Linked DNA regions of Homo sapiens: all the other regions are linked to region 3. The links are contacts of gene promoters, found by promoter capture Hi-C in human tissues and cell types (Jung and others, 2019). All regions are on one chromosome and are shown on one strand. Each heading gives the region's core, a stretch centred on a gene start or on the middle of the fragment in contact. The rest is flanking DNA. Distances are from core to core; before and after follow the strand shown.

What was found. The method cuts DNA at HindIII sites, captures the fragments that hold promoters and counts their contacts. A contact is called where the count stands out against the background at its distance.
Region 1: a fragment that was not itself captured here is called in contact with the fragment with the promoter of RPL18A in region 3 in 1 of the 25 tissues and cell types used here (spleen).
Region 2: a contact is called between the fragment with the promoter of PGPEP1 here and the fragment with the promoter of RPL18A in region 3, in 2 of the 25 tissues and cell types used here (lymphoblastoid cells and spleen).

Annotation. Positions count from the first base shown.
Region 1 is chr19:18,184,792-18,187,633 of GRCh38, reverse strand. No RefSeq gene overlaps it. Among named protein-coding and RNA genes, the nearest start is that of MPV17L2, 7.0 kb to the left of the region's middle. The HindIII fragment of the contact is 5,661 bases long and covers 1-2,842 here.
Region 2 is chr19:18,339,343-18,342,148 of GRCh38, reverse strand. It overlaps PGPEP1 (pyroglutamyl-peptidase I), which reads right to left and starts at 1,551. Exons shown (of 5, transcript NM_017712.4): 1 at 1,434-1,551. The coding sequence starts at 1,467. RefSeq lists an enhancer at 994-1,681 and a silencer at 1,513-1,702. The HindIII fragment of the contact is 61,917 bases long and covers 1-2,806 here.
Region 3 is chr19:17,858,465-17,861,317 of GRCh38, reverse strand. It overlaps RPL18A (ribosomal protein L18a), which reads right to left and starts at 1,408. Exons shown (of 5, transcript NM_000980.4): 1 at 1,344-1,408; 2 at 1-25. The coding sequence starts at 1,361. RefSeq lists enhancers at 1,413-1,792, 1,125-1,860. The HindIII fragment of the contact is 5,224 bases long and covers 1,311-2,853 here.

The DNA of each region.
Region 1 (2,842 bases), core at 205-2,704, 330 kb before region 3:
TGTAATCTGAGCTACTTGGAGGCTGAGGCAGGAGAATCGCTTGAACCTGGGAGGCGGAGTTTGCAGTGAGCTGAGATCATGCCATTGCACTCCAGCCTGGGCGACAGAGCGAGATTTTGTCTCAAAAAAAAAAAAAAAAATTGTTGCTTGGCCGGGCTCGGTGGCTTATGCCTGTAATCCTACCATTTGGGACCTGGATGCAGGAGGATCGCTTGAGGTCAGGAGTTGGAGTTGCCCAGATGCCTGGGCAACATGGTAAGACCAGGTAACATGGTAAGACCGGATAACAAAATTATCCGGGTACGGTAGTGCACACCTGTAGTCCCAGCTACTTGAGAGGCTGACGTGGGAGGATCGCTTGAGTCCCAGAGGCTGAGTCTTCAGCTGGCTGAGATGGTGACACTACACTCTGGCCTGGATGACACAGCGAGACCCTGCCTCAAAAAGTAAAATAAAAAATAAAATTAAGAGAATTTATGGGGCTGGGTGCGGTGGGTCATGGCTGTAATTCCATCACTTTGGGAGGCCGAGGCAGGCGGATCACCTGATGTCGGGAGTTCAAGACCAGCCTGGCCAACATAGTGAAACCCCGTCTCTACTAAAAATACAAAAATCAGCCAGGCATGATGGCGGGTGCCTGTAATCCCAGCTACATGGGAGGCTGAGGCGGGAGAATCACTTGAACCCGGGAGGCAAAGGTTGCAGTGAGCCGAGATCTTGTCATTGCACTCCAGCCTGGGCGACAGAGCCAGGCTCTGTCTCAAAAACAGAAAAACAAAAGATACTTTATTGCTTCCCAGGAAGAGCAGCTTTTGATACCTGGCAGTAATTTTTGTATGTTTCTGTTGATAGTGTTCAGGACATGTCACCCATAACATACCAGCATACAACTTTGGCATATTGATATTGAGAATTTTGAGTTAAACACACTTGCAAACAGTGGATGCAAGAAGGGCTCTTCTTTTTATTTTTTTGAGAGGGAGTCTCACTCTGTTGCCCAGTCTGGAGTGCAGTGGCATGATCTTGGCTCACTGCAACCTCCACCTCCCGGGTTCAAGTGATTCTCTTATCTCAGCCTTCCAAGTATCTGGGATTACAGGCATGTACCACCATGGCCGGCTAATTTTTGTATGTCTAGTAGAGACGGGGTTTTGCCATGTTGGTCTGGCTGGTCTTGATCCCCTGACCTCAGTTATCTGCCCATCTCAGCCTCCCAAAATTCTAGGATTACAGGCACGAACCACCGCAGCCAGCCCAGAAGGGCTCTGTGATCTATCTTTTTATTTTTTCTTTATTTTTGAGAAGGAGTCTCACTCTGTTGCCCAGGCTGGAGTGCAGTGGCGCGATCTCAGCTCACTGCAACCTCCGCCACCCAGGTTCAAGTGATTCTCCTGCCTCAGCCTCCCAAGTAGCTAGGATTATGGGCGCCCGCCACCACGCCTGGCTAATTTTTGTATTTTTACTAGAGACGGGTTTTATCATGTTGGCCAGGCTGGTCTTGAACTCCTGACCTCAGGTGATCCCCCAGCCTCTGCCTCACAAAGTACTGGGATTACAGGCATGAGCTACCGTGCCCGGCCAAAATTTTTAAAAAATTAGCCAGGTGTGGTGGTGTGCAACTCTAGTCCCAACTACTTGGGAGGCTGAGACAGGAGGATTGCTTGGGCCTGAGAGGTCAAGGCTTCAGTGAGCTGTGATCCCGCTACTGCACTCCAGTCTGGATGACACAGCAAGACCCTGTCTCAAAACAAACACTTAGGTCTAGTTACTTTTTTCGGTCTCCATTTTTCTCGTGAGGGCTCCCATCTACAATGAATAAGCTTTGTGTGCTATTGTTTTGTTAATCTGTCTGTCAGTCTGAGCCAGACACCAGAGAGAGGAGGAAAGCTCTAGCCCTGCTAGTTTCTGGTGATGAGGATGGGCTACAATTGGCTGGGAATATCTGCTCCCTCTGGGGTCTGCAGGGGAGAAATGCTGGGACCTGACAAGCCAATGCAAAGTAAGAATTCAGCCGGACGCGGTGGCTCATGCCTGTAATCCCAGCTTTTTGAGAGGCTGAGGTGGGTGGATTACTTGAGGTCAGGAGATCAAGACCAGTCTGGCCAACACGGTGAAACCCCATCTCTACCAAAAAATAGCAAAATTAGCTGAGTGTGGTGGTGTGTGCCTGTAGTCCCAGTTACTCGGGAGTCTGAGGCAGGAGAATCACTGAAACCTGGGAAGCTGGGGTTTCAGTGAGCTGAGATAGCACCACTGAATTCCAGCCTGGGCAACAGAGTGAGACTTTGTCTCAGAAAAAAAAAAAAAAAAAAAAAAAGGCTGGCACGGTGACTCACACCAGTAATCCCAGCACTTTGGGAGGCCGAGGTGGGTGGATCACCTGAGGTCAGGAGTTCAAGACCAGCCTGGCCAACATGGTGAAACCCCGTCTCTACTAAAAATACAAAAAAATTATCCAGGCGTAGTGGCAGGCACCTGTAATCCCAGCTAATCGGGAGGCTGAGGCAGAAGAACCGCTTGAACCCGGGAAATGGAGGTTGCAGTGAGCCGAGAAAGTACCACTGCACTCCAGCCTGGGCAACAGAGCCAGACTCCGTCTCAAAAAAAAAAAAGAAAAGGACGAATTCTTATCAGGCTGGGATTATGGCTCACACCTGTGATCCCAGCACTTTGGGAGGCTGAAGCAGGAGGATCACTTGAGCTCAGGAGTTTGAGACCAGCCTGGGGAACATAGCAAGACCCCATCTCCACAAAAATTTAAAAAATTAGCTCGGATAGGTGGTGCATGCCTGTAGTCCCAGCTACTCAGAAGTTTGAGGCAAAGGGGATTCTAGAGCCCAGG
Region 2 (2,806 bases), core at 302-2,801, 480 kb before region 3:
TCACCTGAGGTCAGAAGTTTGAGACCAGCCTGGCCAACATGGTGAAACCCCGTTTCTACTAAAAATACAAAAAATTAACCAGATGGGGTGATGCGTGCCCGTAATTCCAGCTACTCAGGAGGCTGAGGCAGGAGAATCGCTTGAACCCAGGAGGCGAAGGTTGCAGTGAGCCGAGATCGCGCCGTTGTGCTCCAGCTTGGGCAACAAGAGCAAAACTCCGTCTCAAAAAAAAAAAAATACGGTCCATCTGGGCCAGTGATCCCACAGGATATGAATGCTATGCAGAGATGCTGTAGCCTGGGATAGCAGGTAGGGGCTGTGGCTCAGGAGGGGACCTCCTAACTCTATCCTTCTGTACAGCCAAAGTTTGAGTCTCAGCTCAGCCCCTTACAAACTGGATGACCTCTGTGAGCCTCAGTTTCCCTTTCTGCAAAATGGAGACAGTAAAGATGTAATCAGCTCATGCAAAAAGTGCTGGAATAAATAACCAGATAAAGGAAGGCTGGAAGGGATGGGGGCAGTGACCCTCCTCCCAATTATACACACCTGTTAAGCAGGTGCCTTGTTTCTTCCTTCTTCCCTGAATCTCCTGGATCAGCCTCAATCTCCCTTCAACAGCCACAAAACACCTGTGTGCACCTTTGCTGGATTTCCCACTCTGACCCCTCCAGACAGCAGGTCAAAATGACCCCCCCACTCCTTGACTCTGAGGCCCCAGCGGAAGTTGGCGCCCCACGTGGCCCCGAGGCGGAGTCTCAGGGAGGAGAAACAGTTGGTTTGGGGGTGGGGGGGAGTCGGTGACAGCAGGGGCCCTGACTCACCAACAAACAGCCCTGGCACAAAACACAAAAAGGTTTCCGCTGAAGACAGTCCCTGGGACAGCTGGGAGAGCCCGAGGTCCCCGGACCCCCACCTGCCCCTGCCTTGGGAGAGTAGCCCCCCAGGAGCGCAGGGCGCGGCGAGCAGTGACTGGGAGGTTCATTTGTCACTGGGACACTTCCTGCCCGCAAATCGGCCTTTGTCCCCTGGGGCCAGGGGTTGGGGGAGCGGTGTGGGGACAGGCTGGACCTCGGAAGGGGCAGGGAGGAAGGGTCCAGTCCAGCCCGCAGGCCAGACAGAGGAGGCAGGTGCCAGGAGGGTCACCATCCCCACCTTGGGAGGAAAGGACGCCAGGGGGGCCTGCGCAGCGCCGGGCTTTTGCCCGGCCCCCCAAGCCCCGCGCCCGACTGCCCTGACTCCCGACCCTGGGACCCCCAAGGCTCCTCCTCCTCCACTTTCCAGGAAGCCTGGGCTGCGCGGGGCTCCCGCGGGTGATGACACCTTCCAAATCTGAGAGGACTTCCAGCACCTGCCCCTCTCGGCCCCGCAGTCCCGGAGCCGCCCCCGCCTCTGCCCCCGGCCGCTGCCGCTACAGCCCCCATCAGCCAGCGTACCCGTCACTACCACCGCCTTCCTCGGCTGCTCCATGGCGGGATCGGGCTGTGCCTCGGACCTGCTTCTGTTGCGACTGGCGCGACAGCTGCTGCCGCTGCAGCCTCTCGGCCGCGCGAGGCCACGCCCCTGTCAAGCCCCCGGCCTCGCCCCCGGTCAGCCGCTCGGCGTGCGCGCCCCCGGGCCCGAGACGCAGCGTGCGCGCCCTGCGCCCCGCCCCCGTCGGCTAGGCCCGGTATTCCCCAGCCTCCGTTTCCCCGTCTGCAAAATGGGAACATCTTATGCCGTAGTGTGTAGCCGCTTGCACGCACTGAGCCAGGTGCTGGGGATGAGCCGGTCCTTTATTCTGCAAGGGTTCATTGAGGGCCTGCCCTATGCATGCATACTGCGCAGAATTAGGGAGGGAAGTCCCCGCGAGCAAGGCCCGTTTTCCAGATAAGGAAACTGAGGCACAGAATGCCACTTCCCCGAGGTCACTCGCCTCAAGGGGTCACAGGAGCAGCATTCAGGCCAGGAAGTTGGCGGGGGTGGGGGAGGACAGAGTAAAAAAGGAAAAACACGACAACCATATTTGTGTGGTGCCAGAAGTTTCTCTGCAGGCCCCCATGGTCCTAGGAGGCTAATGGGGGAGGGCGATTGTACCTGCTGTTCCCTCTGCCGGAACACACCCCGCAGGTACCTGCGAAGCTGGCCTCCTTCAGGCCTCAGCTCCAGTGTTCCAATGTCGCCTCCTCCCAGGGGCCCTCCTCCTGTCCTGGCTGTCACCTCCTCCGAGGGGTGAACTGTCACTTTCTCCTTGTGGCCTTCTCTGGCTATCACCTCCCTGCTATCCTATTACCTCCTCTGAGGGTTCCTTCTGGCCCTCCTTGGCTGAAATGACCTCACTGCTACCCCCCAGTGGTTCCATCTCATTCCCTGGTTCCATCCTCTTCATAGCAATAAAGCTCAGAAATAATTTCCTTTCTCTCTCTTTTTTTTGGAGACAGGGTCTCACTCTGTTACCCAGGCTGGAGTGCAGTGGCAAAATCATAGCTCTGTAACTTTGACCTCCAGGGCTCAACTGATCCTCACATCTCAGCCTCCTGAGTAGCTGGGACTACAGGTGTGTGGCACCACACCCAGCTAATTTTTGTATTTTTGTAGAGATGGGGGTTTCATAGTGTTGCACAGGCTGGTCTCGAACTCCCGAGCTCAAGCAATCCGCACACCTTGGCCTCCCAAAAGTGCTGGGATTACAGGTGTAAACCAGCACACCTGGCCAGAAATCATTTTTAATTTTTTTTAGCTTTTAAGTTTTGGGGTACATGTGCAGGTTTGTTATATAGATAAACTCGTGTCATGGGGTTTGTTGTACAGATTATTTAGTCCCCCAGGT
Region 3 (2,853 bases), core at 159-2,658:
GACCCACTACCTTGTACTCTCGTAGCTGAAAGGAAACAGGAGTGAGGGTAAGGCCAGCACCCAGAGGCAACTGTGGAGATCCACCTCACTCCCTTTCCTACATCTAGTGACCACAGATTCGGGAAGCAGGAGGCAGGGCCACCCTAGGGCCTCCATGTGGATTCTTGGTGACTGTAGGTCACACTCCCGACCACAACTTTATACACAAAATGAACTGAGGAGAGGGAGGTCTCCAGGGAGGATTAATTGAGTTGCCTGCCTCTCCTTTGCCTGGGCTAAGGGTTTCAGACCAGGAAAGCTGTGGCTTAGACCCACAGCCTCCTTTCTTCATGCTGCAGTCCTGAATTGCTTTGCAGTCGCCGTCAAACAGCCACTCTGCACCTCAAAACATCCAGCCAACATCTTCTTTCACCCTGAGGCCCAGTGACCAGCATGGGATCTCACAGCCCATTCCAGGCAGAACTAGGACAAGACCTCAGGTCTCTCCCCAGCCCTGGGATCCCTGCACTGTTGCCACGCGAGCTGCGGCTGCCTCCGTTTTCCCAACTGCAATCCAAACGTTTGGCCCAGGGAAGACTCCCGGTTTACAGATGCAGAGGTGAGAATCTTTGGTCAAGTCCAGGCTCTGTGATATGGCACAAAGAAACCACCTCTGAAACTGACTCGCCAGCTTTTCACTAGTTATCAATGAAAAATAGTCACAAATTATCGCAGTTCCTACTTTTACTGTGAACCTGACCCACCGGCCTCGGCACACGTTCAGGAAGGGAACAATGGGGCCCGCCCCTTTGACAGCAAGGAAACCGAAGCTGGAGATCTGGACATAATACACCCACTCCATGGGAGTCCAGGTTCTCCTATCTCTGCGCCATAGAGCCGTTTGATTCTATCCAGTATGTACCACAGCGTTAAGCCTCACGCTCCCCGTTTCGGCTCACTGTTAGCAATTTTCATCTGCTTCTCACAGCCATTCCGGCAGAAAGAAAACACACTATTGCTCTACCGCCACGTCCACGTTGCAGAAAGGAAAACAGAAACTTGGCGGCTCGACGAGGTGCCGGGGCTAGGGCCTCTATGCTGCGCGACTTATTCCTTCCCCCGGGAAGAAGACCCGGAGTCCTTGGGCCCCCGCGATCCCTGAGCTGGCCCAGGTCACGCATCGCTCTCTCCACGCGGCTCCCACGATGGCCGCCATGTTGGGTGCAACAAGAGAAGGCGGCGCGCGGCCAAGGGGGGCCCAAACAGAAGCGCGCGGCACCAACCCGGCCCACGCCACTTATGCAGGCCCCTGATGGGGCCCGTGCCCCATCCCTTGGCCCCCTGCCGCGCCGCGCCCGCCTTACCGTGCCCGAGGCCTTCATGGCGTGCTCTCCGCGTTCGCCGCCACCCGCAAAAGGAAGTGTCCTCTGTCGCGCAGCCGTTCACCAGGCCTTCACTACCGGAAGACCCGCCCTCTCAATGCCGCACGTCCATTGGCTTCTCTGCCCCGCACTCAAAGCGACCCGCGTCTTCATTGGCTATGGATCCACCTGCTACTCAAAGTTCCGCCTCTCTTCAGCGAGACTTCGTTTCCCAGAAGGCAACGAGGCAAGCTCCACCTGTTCCACCACGACCGCAACGGAGCGTCTGCGCGCGCGGCACGTCGGGAGTTGTAGGCACTCCGCCAGTCCCGGCTGCAACTAGGGGCGGCGGCGCGCGCCGCCTGCAGGATGCCTAAGCATTGAACCTAAGCTACCTCGGGTGGCTGCGGTGTTTACCGTGAGATCCCGATGCTTCACACTCGGGGCCTCATCCTCCGGGGAGGTGTGTTACGGAGGTCTCCACCAGATACCTGAGGGTATCTGTAAAATGGGAATACAAATAATATATTTTTCTCCTAGCGATGTTGCAGCACGAATATTGAATAAGCTCTGGAATGCTGTTTTTGTTAATTTGGGGTCCGATTTGTGTTTCGTAGTAGCTGGGATTCAAACTCTGTCTGTCTGCCTCCAGTTCATAAGAACCTGAGGGAGCAGGGGTTGGGGGAGAGCGCGCGGAGAGCCGGAGAATGGATCAAGATCCAGCCGCCCACTTTGAGGGGCTTGGACTTAGCAGTTTGCTTGGGCAGAAAGAAGCCCTCCTGGGGATGAGGACGGGGACCAGATATGAAAAAAGAAACACCCGCAAACAACTCCCTGATGACAAGGCTATGAAGTAAAATTAAGAGGAAAGAGGCAGGAGGCTGAGGCATGAGAATCGTTTGAACCCAGGAGCCAGAGGTTGCAGTGACCCGAGATTGCGCCACTGTACTCCAGCCTGGGCGACAGAGTGAGACTCTGTCTCAAAAAAAAAAAAAAAAAAAAAAGACCAGGCGCGGTGGCTCACGCCTGTCATCCCAGCACTTTGGGAGGCCGAGGCGGGTGGATCACTTGAGGTCAGGAGTTCGAGACCAGCCTGGCCAACATGGCGAAACCCCGTCTCTACTAAAAATACAAAAATTAGCCGGGCGTGGTGGCGGGCGCCTGTAATCCCAGCTACTCGGGAGGCTAAGGCAGAAGAATCGCTTGAACCTGGGAGATGGAGGTTGTAGTAAGCCGAGATCTGGCCATTGCACTCCAGCCTGGGAGACAGGGCGAGACTCCGACTCAGAAAAAAAAGAAAGAAAGAAAGAAAGAAAATAAAGGACAGCAAGCATGCAATTTTTTATTTTCATTTTCTTATTTTGCATTTCTGGTTCTCTTAATCTGGTTTTGTGGATTCAAGTCACTACTGGGTGTGATTTTCTTTTCTTTTCTTTTTCTTTTATTTTTTGAGACTGAGTCTTACTCTTTTCCCCAGGCCAGAGTGCAGTGGCGCTATCTCGGCTCACTGCAA